7 separate regions of the Homo sapiens genome follow, and all the other regions are linked to region 4. The links are contacts of gene promoters, found by promoter capture Hi-C in blood cells and fetal thymus (Javierre and others, 2016). All regions are on one chromosome and are shown on one strand. Each heading gives the region's core, a stretch centred on a gene start or on the middle of the fragment in contact. The rest is flanking DNA. Distances are from core to core; before and after follow the strand shown.

Region 1 (2,700 bases), core at 115-2,614, 690 kb after region 4:
CGAGAACAGCTCAAGAAAGACTTGCCCCCATAGTTCAATCACCTCCCACTGGGTTCCTGCCATGGAACATGGGAATTGTGGGAGTTACAATTCACGGTGAGATTTCGGTGGGGACACAGCCAAATCATATGAATTTTCTACTATTCTATATGTTGTCTTTTCACTCTTGATTGTGTTCTTTGCTGTGCAGAAGCTTATTAGTTGGATGTAGTCCCACTTGTTTATTTTGTTGTCGTTGCCTCTGCTTTTGCTGTCATATCCACAAAATCATTGCCAAGACTATTGTCATGGCACTTTCCCCCAATGTCTTCTTCTAGGCGTTTTATAGGTTTGTGTCTTACATTCAATCATTTAAACCATTCTGAGTTGATTTTTGCGTATGGTGTCAGATAAAGGGCCAATTTCATTCTTTTACATGTGGATATCTAGTTTTCTTATCACCATTTGTTGAAGAGATGATCTTTTTCCAACTGTATATCCTTGGCACCCTTATTGAAGATCAATTAAACATATATGCATAGTTATTTTTTTCTGGGCTCTCTATTCTGTTTCATTTTTCTATATATCTATCCATGACAATTCTGTTTTAATTATTATAGCTTTGTCCTATATTTTGATGTCAGAGAGTGTGATGACTGCCTTGTCATTCTTTCTCAAGATTTATTTGGCTATTGGTCTTTTGTGGTTCCAAATTATTTTTAGAATTTTTTTCTTTTTTTAACTTTTAGGTTCAGGGGTACATGTTACATAGGAAAACAAGTGCCATGGGGGTTTGTTGTAAAGATTATTTCATCACCCAGATATTAAGCAGAGTACCCAATAACTATCTTTTCTGCTCCTCTCCCTCCCCCCAACCTCCACCCTCAAGTAGACCTGTCTGTTGTTTTATTCTTTGTGTTCATAAGTTCTTATCATTTAGCTCCCACTTATAAGTGACAACATGTGGTATTTGGTTTTCTGTTCCTGCTTTAGCTTGCTAAGGATAATAGCCTTCAGTTCCATCTATGTTCCTACAAAAGATGTGTTCTTGTTCTTTTTTGTGGCTGCATAGTAGAATTTTGTTTTTCTATTTTGGTAAAAAATACTAACGAAATTTTTTTTAGGAATTGCATTGAATCTGCAGATTGTCTTAAAAAGTATGCACATTTTAACAATATTAAGTCTTCCAATCCATGAACACACAGATGACTTTCCATTTGCTTGTGTCTTGTTTAATTTCTTTCAACAATGCTTTGTAGTGTTTGGTATACAAGATTTTTGCTTCCTTAGTTAAGTTTATTTCTAGGTATTTTATTCTTTTTGGTGCTAGTGTAAATGGGAATGTTTTCCTAATTTCCATTTCATATTCATTGTTAATGTGTGTGCAAGTGATATTTGTATGTTAATGTTGTATTCTGAAACTTTACTGAATATGTTTATTAGTTCCAACGAAAATTTTTATGAAGTCTTTAGGGTTTTCTATACGTAAGATCATGTCATCTGCAAATAGGAGCAATTTTACTTCTTTGTGATTTAAGTACCTTTTTGTTTGTTTTTTGGCCTAATTGCTCTGGATAGGAATTCCGATGTTGCATTGAAGAGTGAGGGAAATCAAAGTATTTCATCCCCAAATATACTTCCTTGACATATTTTGAGGTGGCTGTTCAGCAAGTCTGCAAACAGAGGTAGCCCTGCAAAGCTGTCTTTGGAGGGGAGATTTGCATTTGTACGAAATCTTCATTGATGCTGCCAGGCTTTCTCTGGGGCTCTCCCTCGTCCTATCTACAAAAGATTAACTGAGAGTATAATACATTTAAAGGTCTGAAAGTCCAGGTGCAGTGGTTCATGTCTCCAATCCAAGCACTTTGGGAAGCCAAGGCAGGAGGATCACTGGAGTCCAGGAGTTCAAAATCAGCATGGGCAATCTAGTGAGACTCCATCTCAAAAAACAAAACAAAAAAAAACGGTTAGCCAGGTGTGACGGCGTGTACCTGTAGTCCCAGCTACTTGAGAGGCTGAGGCTGGAGGATTGCTTGGGACGAGGAGTTCAAGGCTGCAGACAGCCATGGTTGTGCCACTGAACTCCAGTCTGGTCAATAGAGCAAGACCCTGTCTCCACACACATGCAAAAAAAAAAAAAAAAAAAAAAAAAAAAAAAAAGATCTGAAGAAAACATTCATTCATTATTCATTCTCTCTGAAGGCTACTACCTGTGAGGTTTCACTTACATAGCAGGACCACCTTTGTTAGCCAGGCTTCCTCTTCTCCCCCTCCCATAATCTGTTTTGCTGATATCCAACCCCCATTCCTTCTGTAACCTCAAGATGGCACATAAGGTTCTGAAACCTACTGGGTGATTGGGGTAATTATGCTGTGGTTCTCTCCCATATACAAGTTAATAAATTTGTATGCCTTTTCTCCAATTAATCCACCTTTATCAGTTGATTTTTCAGTGAACCATCTGAAGATAAAGAGTAATTTTCCCTTGGCCCCTACAATAGAAAAGGTGAAAGTAAGCATCCTTGCCTTATTCCTAATCTTAGAGGAAAAGCTTTTAGTTTTTTACTATTGAGTGCGATGTTAGCTGTAGGCTTTTTATAGATGGTCTTCATTATGCTGAGATATTTTACTTCTGTTCCTAGTTTGTTGAGAGTTTTTATCATGAAGGGGTGTTGAATTTTGTCAAATGCTTTTTCTGCATCAATTGAGACAATCATGTGA
Region 2 (2,700 bases), core at 190-2,689, 750 kb after region 4:
ACTGTAAAAATACTCATTAACCACTAAATAAAATGTCTGAATCTTCAAACAATAAAACTTTGAAAATATGTACTAGGGTAGAAACTTATTTTTTGGCCAAGGTCTAAGTTGGTATTTCTACTTATGCCGTTTATGTGGTTTGTCGGTATTGATTAAAACCAATGCATCTACCTTTAAAAAAAAAAAGCTTCTTTAAGTTAAGAAAAACAAAAGACAAAATAGCACCTGAAGCTACCACATGTACTTATTAGCAATTCTTAACAAAGAAAGAGAGGAAAAAACTCCTCTGAAAATGTACCTGTTCCATTTTTGGATTAACTACACAAAAGTAATTAAGTAACCAAATTTAAGAAAAACAAGTAAAGTTTTCAAATTTGCAAAGTTTCTAAGTGATAGTGAAAAATACACAATGAAATGAAAGGCTATACCCCACTTTATAATTGCACAGCTGCTACACCGATGTTTCAACAATATGGTTGACATTCTTCTTCTGACTAAGTGGGCATATCATAATTTGACAACAGTGAAGTTGTAAGGGGCTGTTTAACCTTTGGTTTGTTGGAAGCCACTTTGTTATTATGCATTTCATTACAGAGTAAAGGATACAGCACTGGCATGATTTATACCAACAAAGACTGCTACACACCGCATTACACTGGACCACTCTCTTTTAAATTTATGTGGTTCTCCTAGATGTCTGTCAATGCAGGGGTATAATAACCCAATCACAGCTGTAGGGAAAAAAGAAAAAAATTAAGTTACCTCCAATGTTGTACTGGCAACACTTAAGCTAAAAGAATCACTACAACCACCACAAGCATTTTAAAGATTCTTAAAAAAAAAAAAACAAAAAAAAAAGTTATTTCACATCAATCACCGATATTTTTTAACTTACCTTCCAAAGGAAATGAAATGAGGATAACACCAATGAAGAAAGTATTGCAAATGATTACAACAACATTCTAAATTATAATCAACAAAATACTCTTCAAATGTATGATTCACAATTTAGCAGACTGGACTAAATGATTCGTGCTACTAAATGATTCATGCTACTTTTCTACTACTGATACCTACGAGACCTGAAAAAAGTATCAAACCAGTTAGCAGTTAAGTAATGTTCTCTCTAAACTCCAAACCATAAAATATTTATTATATGCCACAAATCTAAGAGAATCTAGAAGTATAAAAGTATACAACAAGCTCATCATACACACAATGTTCTGAAGGTTCTGGCTGGCCTCTTACGTAGATCAGTCTCGCCCCTACCAGCTTCCCGTTTTAGTCTTCAGCATGTAGCACCTTTTACTGACACTCCTTTCCACTCTAGCCCTTTAATGAGGCTGTAGGTCATATTGTCAAAGCAGGAAAACTCACAACAGAAATCTACAGGTAAGACTCATTCTGCACATAGAAACAATGGAGGAAACAAGGTGTAGAGGTATTTAAAATTTTCAGTTAAATTTTAAGTGCACTGTTAGAAGAAGAAATCATCTTAGTACTTCTCTTAGTTTTGGAAAGAACACTTTGAATGTTGTGTCATTAATTATACATAACTGTATATAAAATGTCAATGATTGAGTCCCAAAATATTCTCATCCCTTTCTTATTTCTCAAACCTCAACATTTTATTCATTTAGTGGGAAGGAATTTTAAGTGCTAAATTAGTTATTAAAAAGACTATTTAATGAAAATATTCTAATCTTCCTAAAAACAGGATGATTATGTTGTGCCATTCTGGCAATAAAGACACTACTGTCACATCAGTTGAAAAGCATGTTTAAAATAACCAATACCACTTAAGAGGAATCATGAAATTACAACGCCAAAATCTAAGTGCCTGAGGGACAAGAGGCCCTCCCCCTACCCAGTATTAGCCAGCTGTATCTCACAGGCAATGCATTCACTCTTCGAAGAAAAACAGAAACCAATTAGTATCAAAAATCACAGCCTAGCAGACCAATGGTGCAGCATTTGAAAAAGGCTGTGTGACCACCCTTCTATCTCGAGATGAGATGCTGCAATACTGTATGCATTTTCTAGTCCACAACTCTTTTGAGTTAGGCATGTGCTGAGTATAGATGGCTCACAGAACATCAAGAGATTAAGAACATATCTCGGCAATGCAGAGCTCCAATAACTATTAGTAAATCTAGAAGTTTCACACTATATTCCTATTTAAAAATCTGCTCCAAAATCCTGACAAGATTAACTGACAGGATTTTAAAATTTCTATACAAATAAAATGGCAACAAGCATCCCTAACAGTTGAAATGTAGTTAAACGAATATCACCTCTTTTTTTCTCAAGGGGTCATAAAACTAACAGCTCATTTGTCACCCCCATCCCCCCACCATATATATCCTCCCTTTGCCTGTTGCTGAGTAAAGTCAACTAAGAGCAGACATTCCAAGTCAATTTTCCTGAGCAACTGATGCCTAGGTAAAGAATTATTACATAGAGAATACTGACATGTATGTGCAAAGGTATAAATAAGTAAAATCGACTATATTTTTATGCATGTGATGTCAGACTTGCAAGTGAGAGACAACTGAGGAGAGAAAGCAAAAACACAAAAAGAAATTTAAACTGCCACACTGCCAACCCTGGGATTTGCCAATAAAAATCAAATCCATTGAGTATGCATGGTTCTCAGTTGCTCACTGAGAGGGAGAATTCGAAGAAGCTTGTCACTTCCCA
Region 3 (2,955 bases), core at 239-2,738, 770 kb after region 4:
ACTTTTTTTAAAGGCTAGGAATTAATACTTTGGTAATGATTGGAGAAAACTGAAAGAACTTTAAGAAGCAGATCTTAGATTTATAAAATTAATTTTGGTATTGAGCTGTAATAGAACCATCATCAGAAAAGCCATTCCAAACTGAGAAACAGTATGTGTAGCTCATCAATGGCCTGAAGACTCCTGGTGATGTTTAATATTCTCAGAGGATGTATTAGCTACTCTAGCTTCAGTGGATCCCATTTCTCCTTTTGGAGATTGATCCAGTGTCCTCTCCTGGAAATAAGAGCTCAGTTTTATTTGAGGAAGCCTGGGGCATGTGCACTGTTTAGAATAAGGCATATCTGCCTTGCAGGCTGTGCTCTCCACTACCAGCTGCATATTCTTGGACAAGTTATTTCTCTGTTCTTCAATTTCTTCATCATACAAGTGCCTCCTGTTGTAAGGAGTAAGTGTGATAAAGTAGTGGTAAAAGGTCATAGTTTTGCAGATTTATTCTTATTCGCTTTAATATTATCTTTGACAAATGACCTTCCTATGTCTGTTGAATGCCTTCAGTTTGGGAATTCCTCACCTCTTGAGGAAACTGCTTTTATCTTTGCATAGGTCCAGGTACAAGAGAGTTTTTCCTAGGGTTCAAGTCTCTCCAGCTTCTTTATGGCTCCCACACATTGCCACTCAATTCTGTGTGCCAGCCTTTAAATTGTTAAATCTGCTTCCTGCTCCATGCTCCCCGAAGATCCTTGTCATGTCTAAATATACCCAATTTCTTTAGTCATTTTCCATATGACTTGTTCTCCATCCCTTAACCATAGTAGTTGCTTTCTTCTGGATATGCTTCAGTCTGTCACTATCCCTTCACAGGACCACTTTCAGAACAAACACCAGAGCTGCACCATCACATCTTTTGTTCTATATACTTCTTTTAACATAACATCCCATCACAGTAGCATTTTTGTCGGCCACATCCCACTATTAAGTTGTATAGAGCTGTTAAATTTAGACAACTCTTAAATCCTTTCCATGCGCACAAACCATATTCTTTCTATCCTGTTCTTTTATTGTTGGGGTAAAACTTTGGGGGCATTTGGATTTTTTTTTCTATTGGGAGTGAAGGCTAGGTCCTAAACAAAAGGGCTTCCCTGTTGAATTTCTCCTTTTTAAAACATGTCCATAGTTACTACCTATCAAGATACTTTTGGTACAGATTCCAGCATTCAGTATAATAGTGCGCATTGCAACCTGCGTCAGCACGCCATCCTGCCATCAGAACCTTATTTGTAATAAACATTTTCGATAATGCAACACTAAGGACAGGGGCCTGTGGTGGACTCTGGAGGTGTGCCTTTTGGTTAACATAAATCCATTCATCAGAAATCATTATTTGCCTACAGCCATTCTCACTATGTGCCCAGCTCGTATTCAGAATCATGTCATTAGAGATTGGTAAATTCATATAGAAATTCAGGTTAACCACTTCATCTTCATTAACTCATGCTGACTCCTTTGCTGAGGCTTATAAATCATCTCTTTGAGGATTTGTTCTGAAAGATAACCCAGATCTGATGCCCACCTACCTAGCATTCACAGGATTCACCTCTGTTTTTAGAAGAAGACATTTACCCATTTTCAGGATTCCCTAATTCTCAAGATTCTTCATGATGATTGACAGGAGTTCTGTTTTATCCTAAAGTTCTTTTAGTGTCTGAGAAACGTAACTCATCTAGGTTGTGAGACTTACACACAGCTTCAGTAGCCAGTGCTTACTTATAGATTCCTCACCTACCTTATTTTTTAAAAACCAGTGTTAATGTTGCCCTTCTCTATGTGACAATTGTTCATCTGGAGAGAAAATAGGAATTAAAGCGGTTAGGGAGTTCTCCTTTCCTCCTGTTATCTGTTAACATTGTGAGTGTCTAGGACTACCAGGCTCCTTTGACCTTGGGAATATTTCTGTGTCACACATAAAAATGCGCCCTGTATGGCTCATCACATCAGTCCTGACCCAATTACACTGGTATTGTTTGTAGTGTGCAGTCATGAATGCTTGCACTCCACAGCCTAACCTGTTTCCAGCCTGACCTTAATACTTACTTTCATCTTTCATCCTTACTTCACTCCTTAGACCTGATACTTATCACACTTTGAATTTGTTCTTCGGTCTCCCAGGAGTAAATGCCTCACATCAGCAAATGTGTGCTTTTCTCTGCTCTGACATTCTCACCAGGTGTTTCAGTTATTCATTGCTTTGTATCAAACCAGGTAGCAGCTGTATCACCTCTTAAGTTACACATGGGCACTTCTGCCATACTGTGTTGGCCAACCAGTCACTGAGATTATCCCAGAGAGGAGAAAAGAGGAGATCTGGACTCCACCTTTCAGTGAGAGGAGAGTGAGAACATTTGCGGACAAGTTTTAAAGCCTCCACACTAGGATTAGCAGAGCCCAACAAACAGAGCCTAGGCTCCATGCAGTAAAGATATTTGTTACTTGTTCTCCCTTCTCCGTAGAAGTGTAGGCTTCCTTTTACTAACTTAGCATTCTTCATATAGCTCACTTACATTCTGGACATTAGCATCTAATATTCTTACAGGCTTATATTGCTACTTTATCTTTAAATGTGATTACTTGTCTATTTTCTGTTTAAATTCATCAGAGAACATCCTCTGAGCCCATATTAGTTTCTTAGGAGCTCCTCCATTGCTTCCACCCCACTGTATTGCCAAAACTTAAACTTTGAAAATATTTAATTTCTTTTCTTAGCACCCCTTTAAATGGATTCTACTAATCCTTTTCTTATTCTCTCTGTACAATCCACTTTTACACACTAGATATTCGCATCTTGTTAATGCTTGCCATCCCTTTCTTAGGCTGAAGAGGGTATAATGGAGTGGTTAAGAGTCAGACAGACCTGGGTTTTAATTCCTGCTCTCCCTTAATATCTGTTTAATCTTG
Region 4 (2,765 bases), core at 36-2,535:
TGGAGCCGGAGGCACCCAGGGAGTTGGGAGCAATCCCAGGAAATTCAGTCACCCGGCAATTGAGGGAAACTCCCTGTTCACAACTTCAGCTAGCCAGGGCAAATACTTGGGGTGCAGCGCTTTCATTTATTTGATTTTACTTTGCAGGGAAATCTAACACAGAGGTTACCCTGAACTCTAAAAGCTAGGGCCTAGCGCGCATCCGCGTTCTGACTCGCCGGCCCCGGGGCCCTCCTGAGATTAATCTGCGTTGCCCGGACTCCCACTGCCAGGGAAGGTCCAGGCAACTGGCTCTGGGGCTATTCCTAGCCCTCTGGGCTTGGCTCTATGGCGCCAGGGCAGCTCCAGGGTGTTGTCGAAAGTCTGGACCGGGAAGGGCATGGGTGCGGATTCCCCACAAAGGGAAAGCAATGCAGCGGGCCGGCAGGAGACGTACAAACGTAAACGTGCGACGCTAGCTAGGCGCAGCGGGCCTTTCAGATTTTGCTATTTGTGAAAAACAAATTGCGCCTCTGAAAGTAACCAACTCTAGGTCTATTTCACATCACCGACCTCCCTGTCTCACTCCCCCTCCCTCCACTACACACACCCAAACCCACACCCACCCACAAACACACAAACCGGCAGTGACAACAACCACCCATCCTTCAATAACAGCAACCAGAGACAGAGGAGAAAATAAAAAGCTGAGTTTCTTAGGCGTGGGGGTGCAAAACAGCCAGGCTCCTGCCTACTGCCCCTGCTCCCGTAGCTCACAGACCCATAATCCTGCATTTCTCTAACAAGTTGTTTATGGAGTTGCTTCTCCATTTGCCTACATCCCAAAATTCACCCCTCCCGGGTTTCTTCTGCCCCCTCCTGAGTCCCGGCCTGAAGGAGGGGGAGGGACGCGGGTGCGGGCGCGGGTGGGGGAGGGCGGACCCGACGCACAGGGCCAGCGCCGAGGCGCCCCCTCTCCGCCAGCGGTTGACGCCCCCGGATTATTTATCCGCAAAGTCCCGCGCGCGCCCATTGGGCCGAGGCCCGAGTGTCAGCGCGAGTCCCGGCTCGCCATTGGCTCCGCACACGTGCGGCCCTGACTCACGTGCTTCCGGTTTGAAGGCAAAAAGTGTGCCTGGGTGATTTTTTTTTTAAGCGAGAGAGTTTGTGCAAAGATCCGAGCTGTCAGAGATTTGAAAAAAAAAAAAAAAAAAAAAAAAAAAAAAACAGCCCGGCGCTGGCGGAGACGCGCTCTCCCTGCAAAAAAAGCAAAGGCGATTAAAGGCGCTGCCAGCCTCACGCTCTGGGCACAGCTGAGCGTGACACTCGGGGAAGTCAAACCCCTCACTACTGCCTAGGAAGATGGCTAGACTTTAAATACTATTTTTTTCCCTTTAAGAAAAAAATTATTGGAGCTTTTTTTCTTGCTTTCTTTTTCCTTTTCTTTTTCTTTTTTTCCTTCATTTTTTTGGCCGTGGCTTACTCCCCATTTAAATCAAATCATTGAATCTGGTTGCAGAAAGAAAAAAGAAATAGCCAAGTGTCTCCATATCTGGATGTCTACAAATTAGAGAGGGAGAGACAGCGAGATCTATCTGCTAGATAAGAACGAGCGATCCAGGCCAGACGCCTGAGCTTTTTTCCTGCACCCGCCCCGTGCCTTCGCTGAGGCTTCGCCTGCCTCCTTCCTCCGCGCACCCCCACGGGCCGCTGGCAAAGTGGGGTGGGGAGCGAGGCGGTGGGGGCGGGGGCCGGCGCGGCGGCCGGGGCGGCGGGGCGGCCGAGCATGGAAGAACAGCAGCCGGAACCTAAAAGTCAGCGCGACTCGGCCCTCGGCGCGGCGGCGGCGGCGACTCCGGGCGGCCTCAGCCTGAGCCTCAGTCCGGGCGCCAGCGGCAGCAGCGGCAGCGGCAGCGATGGAGACAGCGTGCCGGTGTCCCCGCAGCCTGCGCCCCCCTCGCCGCCCGCGGCGCCTTGCCTGCCGCCCCTGGCCCACCACCCGCACCTCCCCCCACACCCCCCGCCCCCGCCGCCTCAGCATCTCGCGGCGCCTGCTCACCAGCCGCAGCCAGCGGCCCAGCTGCACCGCACCACCAACTTTTTCATCGACAACATCCTGAGGCCGGACTTCGGCTGCAAAAAGGAGCAGCCGCCACCGCAGCTTCTGGTGGCTGCGGCGGCCAGAGGAGGCGCAGGAGGAGGAGGCCGGGTCGAGCGTGACAGAGGCCAGACTGCCGCAGGTAGAGACCCTGTCCACCCGTTGGGCACCCGGGCGCCAGGCGCTGCCTCGCTCCTGTGCGCCCCGGACGCGAACTGTGGCCCACCCGACGGCTCCCAGCCAGCCGCCGCCGGCGCGGGCGCGTCTAAAGCTGGGAACCCGGCTGCGGCGGCGGCGGCGGCCGCGGCGGCAGTGGCGGCGGCGGCGGCGGCCGCAGCAGCCAAGCCCTCGGACACCGGTGGCGGCGGCAGTGGAGGCGGCGCGGGGAGCCCCGGAGCGCAGGGCACCAAATACCCGGAGCACGGCAACCCGGCTATCCTACTTATGGGCTCAGCCAACGGCGGGCCCGTGGTCAAAACTGACTCGCAGCAGCCTCTCGTATGGCCCGCCTGGGTGTACTGCACACGTTATTCGGATCGTCCATCCTCCGGTGAGTACCCAACTCCGGGCTGCGCCATGCCTTCTGGCCCCGCGGACCGCCCCAGAACGCCAAGCTGCGGCGCTAGGGAGAGCAAACCCGGCCTCGGGTACTCCAGTCTCTCACGCCTGCTTCCTCACCCCAGTTCCA
Region 5 (2,991 bases), core at 430-2,929, 790 kb after region 4:
AAATTCTGGGTTTATTGAGTCTGAATTCAGAAAGTTTTCCTGTCTTTAAAATATAATTCAAAAGTTATGCCGTAAAGACTTCAAGAGCTGGGAAGTTTTCAAGCATCTCACCTGACTTTGCCCTGTTCCCTGCCTCTTTCTCCTACTTGAGCCTTTGTTGACTCACCTGTAAAATGAGGATAATAATACCTACCACTAGAATCGCTGTGAAGATTAGAGAAAACATATATTCCACATGTTAAACAGTGTCTGGTGTGTAGTAATGCCCAGTCCATGGAGGATGCTGGTGCATCTATTAGTATCTGCTGCACTTGCCAATAGATGTTACCTTTTAGGCCTAACTTAATCTCTTTTCTTCTAAAATTATACAATGTAATGGTTAATAACTTTGGAGTCACTCCTGGGTTCAAATAACCGCTATATCACACCAATTTATGGGCTGTATGATCATGAGCAATTTAGTTAAGCTTCCAATGTCACAATTTCTCATCTACAAAATGGGAAAATAATTGTGCCTAATTAATAGACCTATTAAATAAGATAATGCATGAAAAATACCATGTCTGATTTTGCTCAAGAGCTTATCCCCATTGCCTAGTATAGTATCTGGCATAGAGCAAGCACTCAACAAATATTAATGAAGATTTAACTGTTTTATATAATTATTTTATTATTTAATTGTATATTAGTATTACATAGATATTACCATCATCATCATTGTAATCATCATCAGTAAACTTGTACTATTGATATCTCACAGCTTCCTTGGTGTAGAAGTGGTAGTCACATATTTAGACAAAAGTAGATTTTAACATTAAATGTACATGGACCCAAAGAGGGGAACTACAATAGACACAGGGGTTTACTTGAGGGTGAAGAGTGGGAGGAGGGTGAGGATGGAAGAACAACCTATAAGGTACTATGTTCACTACCTGGGTGATGAAATCATTTGTAGACCAAACCCCAGTGGCATGTAATTTACTCATGTAACAAACCTGCACCAGGTAGCCCCCAACCCTAAAATAAAAGTTGGAAGAAAAAAAAGTGGGTTTTGGTTAGGTCCTAGGCTGAAGTAGGAAAGTAATGTTTACTAATGATATCATCTATTCTGTTTAAATATTCATTTATTTAGGAAGACTTGACTGAGCCAGGCTCAGGGGATGTGCCAGGCTCTGGGGATACTATGAAAGCTAAAAGATACACAATCCCAGCTGTCATGGAGCAAAGAGTTTACGAGAGAGAGACTGATGCTAATCAAAGAAGGACACTAACAAATGAACCATTGTATAGCTTTGCCAAGGACCGTGAAGGAGAGAGACACAGCTCTGTGAAGGGGCTTTGATGTAGGGAGGTAAGTTGAAGTCTGAAGCAAAGGATGGAAAGGCCTGACCACATGGGGGCTTGTATGACATGTTTTGAAATGTATTTAATAGGGAGTAGGGGATTGTATCATGATAAAGTGTGTGTTTCCAAGAGCTTACCCTGATTACAATATGGAAGGTGAATCAGAACAAGACAAGGAGTTATAGGGAGATGTTAATGTCAATGATTTTGTACTACAGAAAATCCCAAGGAGGTGGTCTCCATGGTAATTCTGTCTTTGAATCTCAGCAGAAAGTTAGGTTGATGCATTGTTCATAGACACCAAAAAGATAAAGGGGAAGAGACCACTCCCCATGCCCAAATATACAAACTTTTCTTTTCACTATTAGTATCAATACTGAGGACAAGAGATACCACATAGGTCTCTGAATTTATTATTCTTCTCTGCCAATTTTACTGTGTCCACAAGAGAATAAAGCTATCCATATTTCCTGTTTTATATTATGGGCAGTCACATGCCCTCTAATTGGAGGATTGCATGCCAAGCCAATGGCCTGGCCTCATAAAACCTCACTAGCTATTATACTGATGGGGCCAGACTATGATGCAGAGTTGTGAAACTTATCTCTAAACCTTAGGTCCAAAAAGGACAGAAAAAAATAAATCATTTCTAGCTAGAGAGCTCTCATGGCAACCAACTTCTTAAAGGAGTAAGGCAATGAGTTTATTCATATTTCATCCTGCAAATATTTATTCAGCTCTTATTATGTGCCAGCCACCTCTTGCTATATCATGACATCTGCTATATCATGTGATTTAAGGGGGAGGGCTACCATTTATGAACTGACTGTATACTTTATATAGGTTATCTGATTTGTTCATCAAGACAACTCCACAAAATAGAAATTATGACCTCCACTTTAGGAAAGTTAGGATTTAAACCTAGATCTATTGACCACAAAACCCTTCCCCTTCCATTACACCATGTTGTTTACCAGAAAGGAGTCCCTTTTCAGAGATAACTCCCCAAGGAGGCCAGAAACTCTGCCATTAGTGAGTTTCCTTTGTGCCAAGATTCATCCTGTCTCCAGTACCCTCTTTTTAAAAACCACAGCAGGATTTCTCAACCTCAGCACTACTGGCATTTAGGACTGGGTAATTTTTTTGTTGTGGGGGCCATCCTGTACCTTATAGGATATTTAACAACAACACTGACCTTTACCCACTAGATGTCAGTAGCACCCCAGTTGTGATGACTAAAAATGTCTCTGGACATTGCCAAATCTCCCTGGGGGAAGACAAAGCAGAGGAGGAGAAGGTAGTGTGAACGGCCAAGAAAGCAGAGTTGCAAGAAAGAAATGATTGGCAAAGTCAGCTGTTGCTGAGAAATTGTGTAAGATACAGACAGGAGCAAAATGATATTTGAGTTTGGTGATGAAGAGATCCTTGGTGACCTCAAGTAGGGCAGTGTCAGAGGGCTGGTAGGGGCAGGAGCCTGAGGGTGGGGAACATGTGGAAAGCATAGGAGGAGGGTCAGCGGGGAGTGACTCTCCTTTCAATAAGCTTGAGAATACTATAGAAGTGAGGCTGTGCCAGCTCTGGGCCCAGGACTCAAGCTTCTCGTTTCTGAATCTTGGAATACTCTCTCTGGGGTCCTGAGCAGCCATA
Region 6 (2,714 bases), core at 213-2,712, 550 kb after region 4:
CACTTAGATTTCAGGGGATGTATGGAAACACCTGGATGTCCAGGCAGAAGTTTGCTACAGGGGTGGGGCTGTCATGGAGAACTTCTGCTAGGGCAGTGCAGCAGAGAAATGTGGGGTTGGAGCTCCCAGACAGAGTCCCTACTTGGGCACCGCCTAGTGGAGCTGTGAGAAGAGGACCACCATCCTCCACACCCCAGAATGGTAGATCCACCGTCTGCTGGCATCATGTGCCTGAAAAAGCCACACTCAACATCAGCCCATGAAGCAGTTGTGAGGGAGGCTGTACCCTGCAAAGCCACAGGAGTGAAGCTGCTCAAGGCCATGGGAACTCACCTCTTGCATCAGTGCGACCCGGATACAAGACATGTAGTCAAAGGAAATCATTTTGGAGCTTAAAGATTTGACTGTTCTGCTGGATACTGGACTTGCATGGGGTCTGTAGCCCCTGTGTTTTGACCAAGTTCTCCCATTTGCAATGGCTGTCTTTACCCAATGCCTGTACCCACATCCTAGATCCCCACTGTATCTAGGAAGTAAGTAACCTGCCTTTGATTTTACAGGCTCATAGGCAGAAGGGACTTGCCTTGTCTCAGATGAGACATAGAACTGTGGACTTGTGAGTTAATGCTGAAATGAGTTAAGGCTTTGGGGGACTGTTGGGAAGGTATGATAGATTTTGAAATGTGAGGACATGAGATTTGGGAAGGGCAGGGTTTGGCTGTGTCCCCACCCAAATCTCATCTTGAATTGTAACTCCCACAGTTCCCATGTGTCATGGGAGGAACCCAGTGGGAGGTGATTGAAATATGGGCGACGGTTTTTGCTGTGCTGTTCTTGTGACAGTGAATGAGTCTCATGAGATCAGATGGTTTTAAAAATGGGAGTTTCCCGTCACAAGCTCCCTGCCTGCTGCCATCCATGTAGGACGTGACTTGCTCCTCTTGCTCCTCTTGCTCCTCCTTGCCTTCCACCATGATTGTGAGGCCTCCCCAGCCGTATGGAACTGTAAGTCCATTAAACCTCTTTTTCTTTCCAGTCTCGGGCATGTTTTTATCAGTAGCATGAAAACAGACGAATACAGTCCCTAACTAGCCTTCCTACAGCACTAGGGCAGGTGGATAAGTTGGAGACTTCGGGGACATCTGGATTTTAGGTACTTTCAGCTGCTGGCATGGAGCTATGAAGGGTTGCTGGGGCACACATTTGTGAAAGGCTGCCTTCTTTTCCTAGTGCCAGCTTCTGTGATCACTGATGGGCAGCAGGACCAATGGTAGGAAAGAAGAGCTGGACACAGGGAGGGAACAGCATGTGGAACACGGATCCACTGACACCTGTGAATCTGTCCCCACCACTCACTTCCTCTAATCATGGTGACATCCAGCATGTGATGGCTGCTGCTTCATGTCCACCTCTCAATCTTACATGGATTCTCTTTGGACTGGCTGTAACTCCAAACCATACAGGGAAAGAGATTTGGAAACATAGTTTCAATGTAACCAAGGAGACCAGTAGAAAATCACAGTAGAAAATCAGCACCATGGAACCACTCATGGAAGAGGATTCCAGAAAACATAGTTCTGAGTTAAGCAAGCTGATACAGTACAAAACCACTGAAAGAGATGAGAAAACAATGCAGAAAGTGGAACAAACGTGTAAAGAGAAAAGAGAGAAAAGTTAAAAGTTTAAGATCTAGTCCAAGAAGCCCAATATTCAAATGATAGAAGTGCTTGGAAAAAAGAATAAACTAGCAGAAAAAAAATTATCCAGCAATTAAGAAAACACCTCAGAAGGGAAGAGAATTATCCTCCAAGTTGGTAGGCTTATCTGGTATTCATGATGAAGGGCTCATTGGGTATGAAGTGCAATGAATACAAGAGAATCAAGACACATAATTGAAATTTTGAAACACTATAAGCAAAGATAAGATACCAAAAGTCTGTAGGAAAACAGCATAGCAGGTCACATAGTAGAGACTGAGAATCCAAAATAACAATATTGGAGATTCAAAGATAATTAAACAATGCCTTCAATATTCTAAGAATAATTATTTTGAATTTTCAATCTAGGATTCTATACTTAGTAAAAATAATCAACTTTATAGACAGAATAAAGACATTTTTAGGCAAATAAGACAAAAAAATGTACTTCTTGTGTACCCTTTCTGGGAAAGCTACTAGAGTATATACTCTGGAAAAACCAAATAGGGGAAAAAATACAACAGAATACAGGAATTCAATGCTGGAAAGTAGCAAAGGAAAATCTCAGGATGACAATTACATAGCAGATCTAAGAAGTTATTCATTCAGACCAGAACAAAAGTCCACTGTCTTCAAGGAAATAGTGGAATCGACACATTGACATTGTAGAAAATAATGGTGTATTTTTGAGCGAGCTATTGGAAACTTTGGGGAAAAAAAAAAAGCCAGGGAAATAAAATCATAAAGCCATTGTTAATTCCAGGAAAGATGAAAAATGAAAGTCTGAAAAAGAAAATGCAATCTAGTAAAATATCTAGTCTGTTAATTTTTTTGTATAGTGGTGATGATACAAATTTTGACTATCAATTTAACAAACAATTCTGGTATAATAATATTGAGATGACAAAGAAGTGAACGTGGGAATGGAAGTTCATGCAACTGTAATGATAGAGTATTATTGCTATGTATATAGGATTATTTTCTTAATTTATTTTTCAGATACCTCATTGTCAGTGT
Region 7 (2,700 bases), core at 172-2,671, 580 kb after region 4:
GTCAGATTGAGGAGAGTTTTCCTGAGAGAAACGATTGGTAAGTATGATAACTCCACAGACACAGGGGGAAAGGACAGGCTTGGGGGACAAAATTGGGTTCAAATTTCAACGCAGCCAACTGCTTGCCATGTGACCTTGGACAAGCTCATTTGCCTCTAGGAGTCAGTTTCTTCATTGGTGAGTGGGAAGAAAGTGCCTCCAGTGGCACTGCTGCGAGCTTTCAATGATGAGACGCGGGTGTCAGACACTCAACACGGTGAGCAGGGGAGTGTTGTACACATCTGTCATCTGTGGTTGCCCAAAACTTCTGGAACACTCCCTTTGCATTTGGATTGTTCCCTGAATGTGAAACCTACCTTCCCATCAGAGATTCCCCAGAACCACATTTTCCAGCTTCCACTGCCATTAGAAGGCAAATGTGACTCAATTTTGCTGATCAGATGCCCCTGCAGTAAGCTTTGATTTGGAGCAGTTATAGGATGGACGAGGTGGGGCGTGGCCCTCTGTTTTGCTGGCAGAGGGTGGCAGCGTGCCTGGAGAGGGGACAGCTAAGGTGCCAACTTCCTGGTGGCTGCAGAGGAGGCAGCTGCTTGGCAGGCCAGTTCTGCAGTGGGCACTGGGAGTTCCTCCCGAACACCCTGCCTAGAATCTATTTCTTCTGTCCTCCCAGTAGTTCTATGCATTTCCTCTACCCATAAATATATCGCTTTCTGCTAAAACTGGCTAGAGTGGCCTGTGTTACCTGCCATATAGAGCCTGACCCATAGAGGGAGCGAAATGGCCACTTCATCTAAGTGCTGGCAGAGGTAAGTGTTGACACGATGACTGTCAAGAGGCTACTATGATAACCCAAGTAGGAAAGACGAGACCAGGGAACTCCAACAGGTACTTATTTCTAGGAATCTACCACCTATATGTCCCCCGAATCTCCCTCTACTCTCCATCCCATTGACAACCCCTTGGGCTGCATCCATAGTCCTTCCCCAAGATGGCCACAGTAGCCCTTGGTGAATCTGTCTGCCTCAGGATCACATCCTCACCAGCAGCCGGGGTGAGCTTTCAAAAGCAGCAGTCATCTCACATCCCCTGCTTAAACATTTCCTGGAGTTTCCTTTGTATTTAGGACAAAGTCAGAATTTCTTATCGTGGCCTACTAGAAGCTTCATGATCTGCAACCTCCTCCCCTCCATCTCTCCCGTCCACCTCCCCTTCTGACACAGTGCCTTAATCCATGCTTCACTTCTAGAAGATCCTTCCCTTCCCCTACCCCACAGGCTTTGAAGATCCTCAGCCAGTACCTCTGCCTTTCCTCTTTTCGTGCCTGGTGAACTGCACTTTGCTTCCTCGGGCAGCCTCCACTGTCCCTGGGCTCGGCTAGGCCTGCCCAAGCACTCAATTCTCCCCTTTCATAGCTCCCAAGCTCCTTTTAGGGAGTGCTCATTTGGCGTCTGTCCACAGAAGACTAGTGCTCCCTGTCCATCGTGTATGTTGTTCCTGACATGCCCTCAGTCTGGAGGGGAACATGACTCAGTTAGTGCACGTGATGTGATGAGTGCCATTTCAGAGCTAAAATAGTTTGGAAGTGAACGAACCTTCTCCACGCTCATCCTGTACCCATCTACCAATGGAAGGAAAGGACGAGCAACCCTGGGGGTGGCAAGGCTCCAGGTGGAAGAAGCTTGGCTCCCTGAATGCCTATTTTGAAGCCTGCCTGTCAAATACCTACACTGAATTGATAGGACATAAGCCAAGAATAAACTTGTATTATATTAAAACACTGAGTATTTGGGTAGCCAGCTTTACTCTATCTAACACAGCCCTGCTAGAGTCTTGAGGAGAACATGGAGCCTGTCCTCTGCACAGCTGCATTCTCAGCACTGAGCACACTTCCTGACCCAGAGTAACGGCCCCATAAGCATGGGTTTCATGAGTGACAGAGAAAGAAATCTATAGGCCAAGAGAACAGATAGTACTATAGCTGCAGGATGCAGGCGTGGCAGAAACCAAACTAATTCAAATACCAGGAGGGTTTAAGAAGAGAAAGGGGCACGTCTGTTAGTGGGGCCCATCAAAGACTGAGAGGACAGCCGTGCTGGTGCACGAAATACAGGGCCAGAGAGGAGACAAGTTATTGCATTTTTTGTACAGCCACCACTCGCATGTCAAACTCTCATTTCTTTCTCCCAACACGAGTTATACATCCAGGCGGAGTTCCTGGCATGATCCTCCAGAGAGAGGAAAACAGTGCATGTATTTTTCTCCCCATCATAAATACCTGAATGACTTGATGGCTCAGTTGAAAGCACTGAAGTGTAGGGACAATTTCCTCTTTCAATGCCTGTATATACATCTGCTTATGTGTGTATTTAGAGTGTGCATATGTATGTGGAGAATGAAGCTCGGCTCAGTAAAACTAAACTGATCTCAAATATACAATGTGATCACGTTTCCTGGAAGGGAAATAATAAACCCTTCTCAGGATTATAAAATTTTGGAGCTGGAAGGAACCTTAGAAACTATCCAATTCAGACCACTCATTTTACAATTGGAGAAACTGAGGCCAGGAAAGCCAAAAGCCTTGCTCCAGACTTACCAGTTGCCTGGTACAGAGGCAGAGCTGGTCTCCAGCTTCCCACTCCAGTGCTCTTTCCACTTTCTTAGGGTGTAAGATTTTATCTGTAGGTAGGGAGGATTAATAAG

What was found. The method cuts DNA at HindIII sites, captures the fragments that hold promoters and counts their contacts. A CHiCAGO score of 5 or more calls a contact.
Region 1: a fragment that was not itself captured here is called in contact with the fragment with the promoter of EN1 in region 4 in 1 of 17 cell types (non-activated CD4 T cells); the score reaches 5.5 in non-activated CD4 T cells.
Region 2: a contact is called between a fragment that was not itself captured here and the fragment with the promoter of EN1 in region 4, in 2 of 17 cell types (naive CD4 T cells and total CD4 T cells). The highest score is 8.2, in naive CD4 T cells.
Region 3: a contact is called between a fragment that was not itself captured here and the fragment with the promoter of EN1 in region 4, in 1 of 17 cell types (total CD4 T cells). The highest score is 10.4, in total CD4 T cells.
Region 5: a contact is called between a fragment that was not itself captured here and the fragment with the promoter of EN1 in region 4, in 7 of 17 cell types (non-activated CD4 T cells, naive CD4 T cells, total CD4 T cells and 4 more). The highest score is 11.8, in non-activated CD4 T cells.
Region 6: a fragment that was not itself captured here is called in contact with the fragment with the promoter of EN1 in region 4 in 1 of 17 cell types (M2 macrophages); the score reaches 5.3 in M2 macrophages.
Region 7: a contact is called between a fragment that was not itself captured here and the fragment with the promoter of EN1 in region 4, in 4 of 17 cell types (naive B cells, non-activated CD4 T cells, M0 macrophages and 1 more). The highest score is 7.5, in naive B cells.

What each region holds. Positions count from the first base shown.
Region 1 is chr2:118,160,643-118,163,342 of GRCh38, reverse strand. No RefSeq gene overlaps it. Among named protein-coding and RNA genes, the nearest start is that of THORLNC, 24 kb to the left of the region's middle. The HindIII fragment of the contact is 2,337 bases long and covers 196-2,532 here.
Region 2 is chr2:118,101,228-118,103,927 of GRCh38, reverse strand. It overlaps INSIG2 (insulin induced gene 2), which reads right to left. Exons shown (of 6, transcript NM_016133.4): 3 at 607-731. Among named protein-coding and RNA genes, the nearest start is that of INSIG2, 14 kb to the right of the region's middle. The HindIII fragment of the contact is 2,499 bases long and covers 190-2,688 here.
Region 3 is chr2:118,079,781-118,082,735 of GRCh38, reverse strand. All of the region lies in intron 1 of LOC107985940 (a long non-coding RNA gene), which reads left to right. Among named protein-coding and RNA genes, the nearest start is that of INSIG2, 7.2 kb to the left of the region's middle. The HindIII fragment of the contact is 5,040 bases long and covers 1-2,955 here.
Region 4 is chr2:118,846,168-118,848,932 of GRCh38, reverse strand. It overlaps EN1 (engrailed homeobox 1), which reads left to right and starts at 1,285. Exons shown (of 2, transcript NM_001426.4): 1 at 1,285-2,627. The coding sequence starts at 1,766. The HindIII fragment of the contact is 11,695 bases long and covers 1-2,765 here.
Region 5 is chr2:118,061,158-118,064,148 of GRCh38, reverse strand. LOC107985940 (a long non-coding RNA gene) reads left to right here. Exons shown (of 3, transcript XR_001739662.3): 2 at 1,133-1,351. Among named protein-coding and RNA genes, the nearest start is that of INSIG2, 26 kb to the left of the region's middle. The HindIII fragment of the contact is 2,419 bases long and covers 470-2,888 here.
Region 6 is chr2:118,294,396-118,297,109 of GRCh38, reverse strand. No RefSeq gene overlaps it. Among named protein-coding and RNA genes, the nearest start is that of THORLNC, 110 kb to the right of the region's middle. The HindIII fragment of the contact is 3,038 bases long and covers 1-2,714 here.
Region 7 is chr2:118,267,679-118,270,378 of GRCh38, reverse strand. No RefSeq gene overlaps it. Among named protein-coding and RNA genes, the nearest start is that of THORLNC, 83 kb to the right of the region's middle. The HindIII fragment of the contact is 518 bases long and covers 1,163-1,680 here.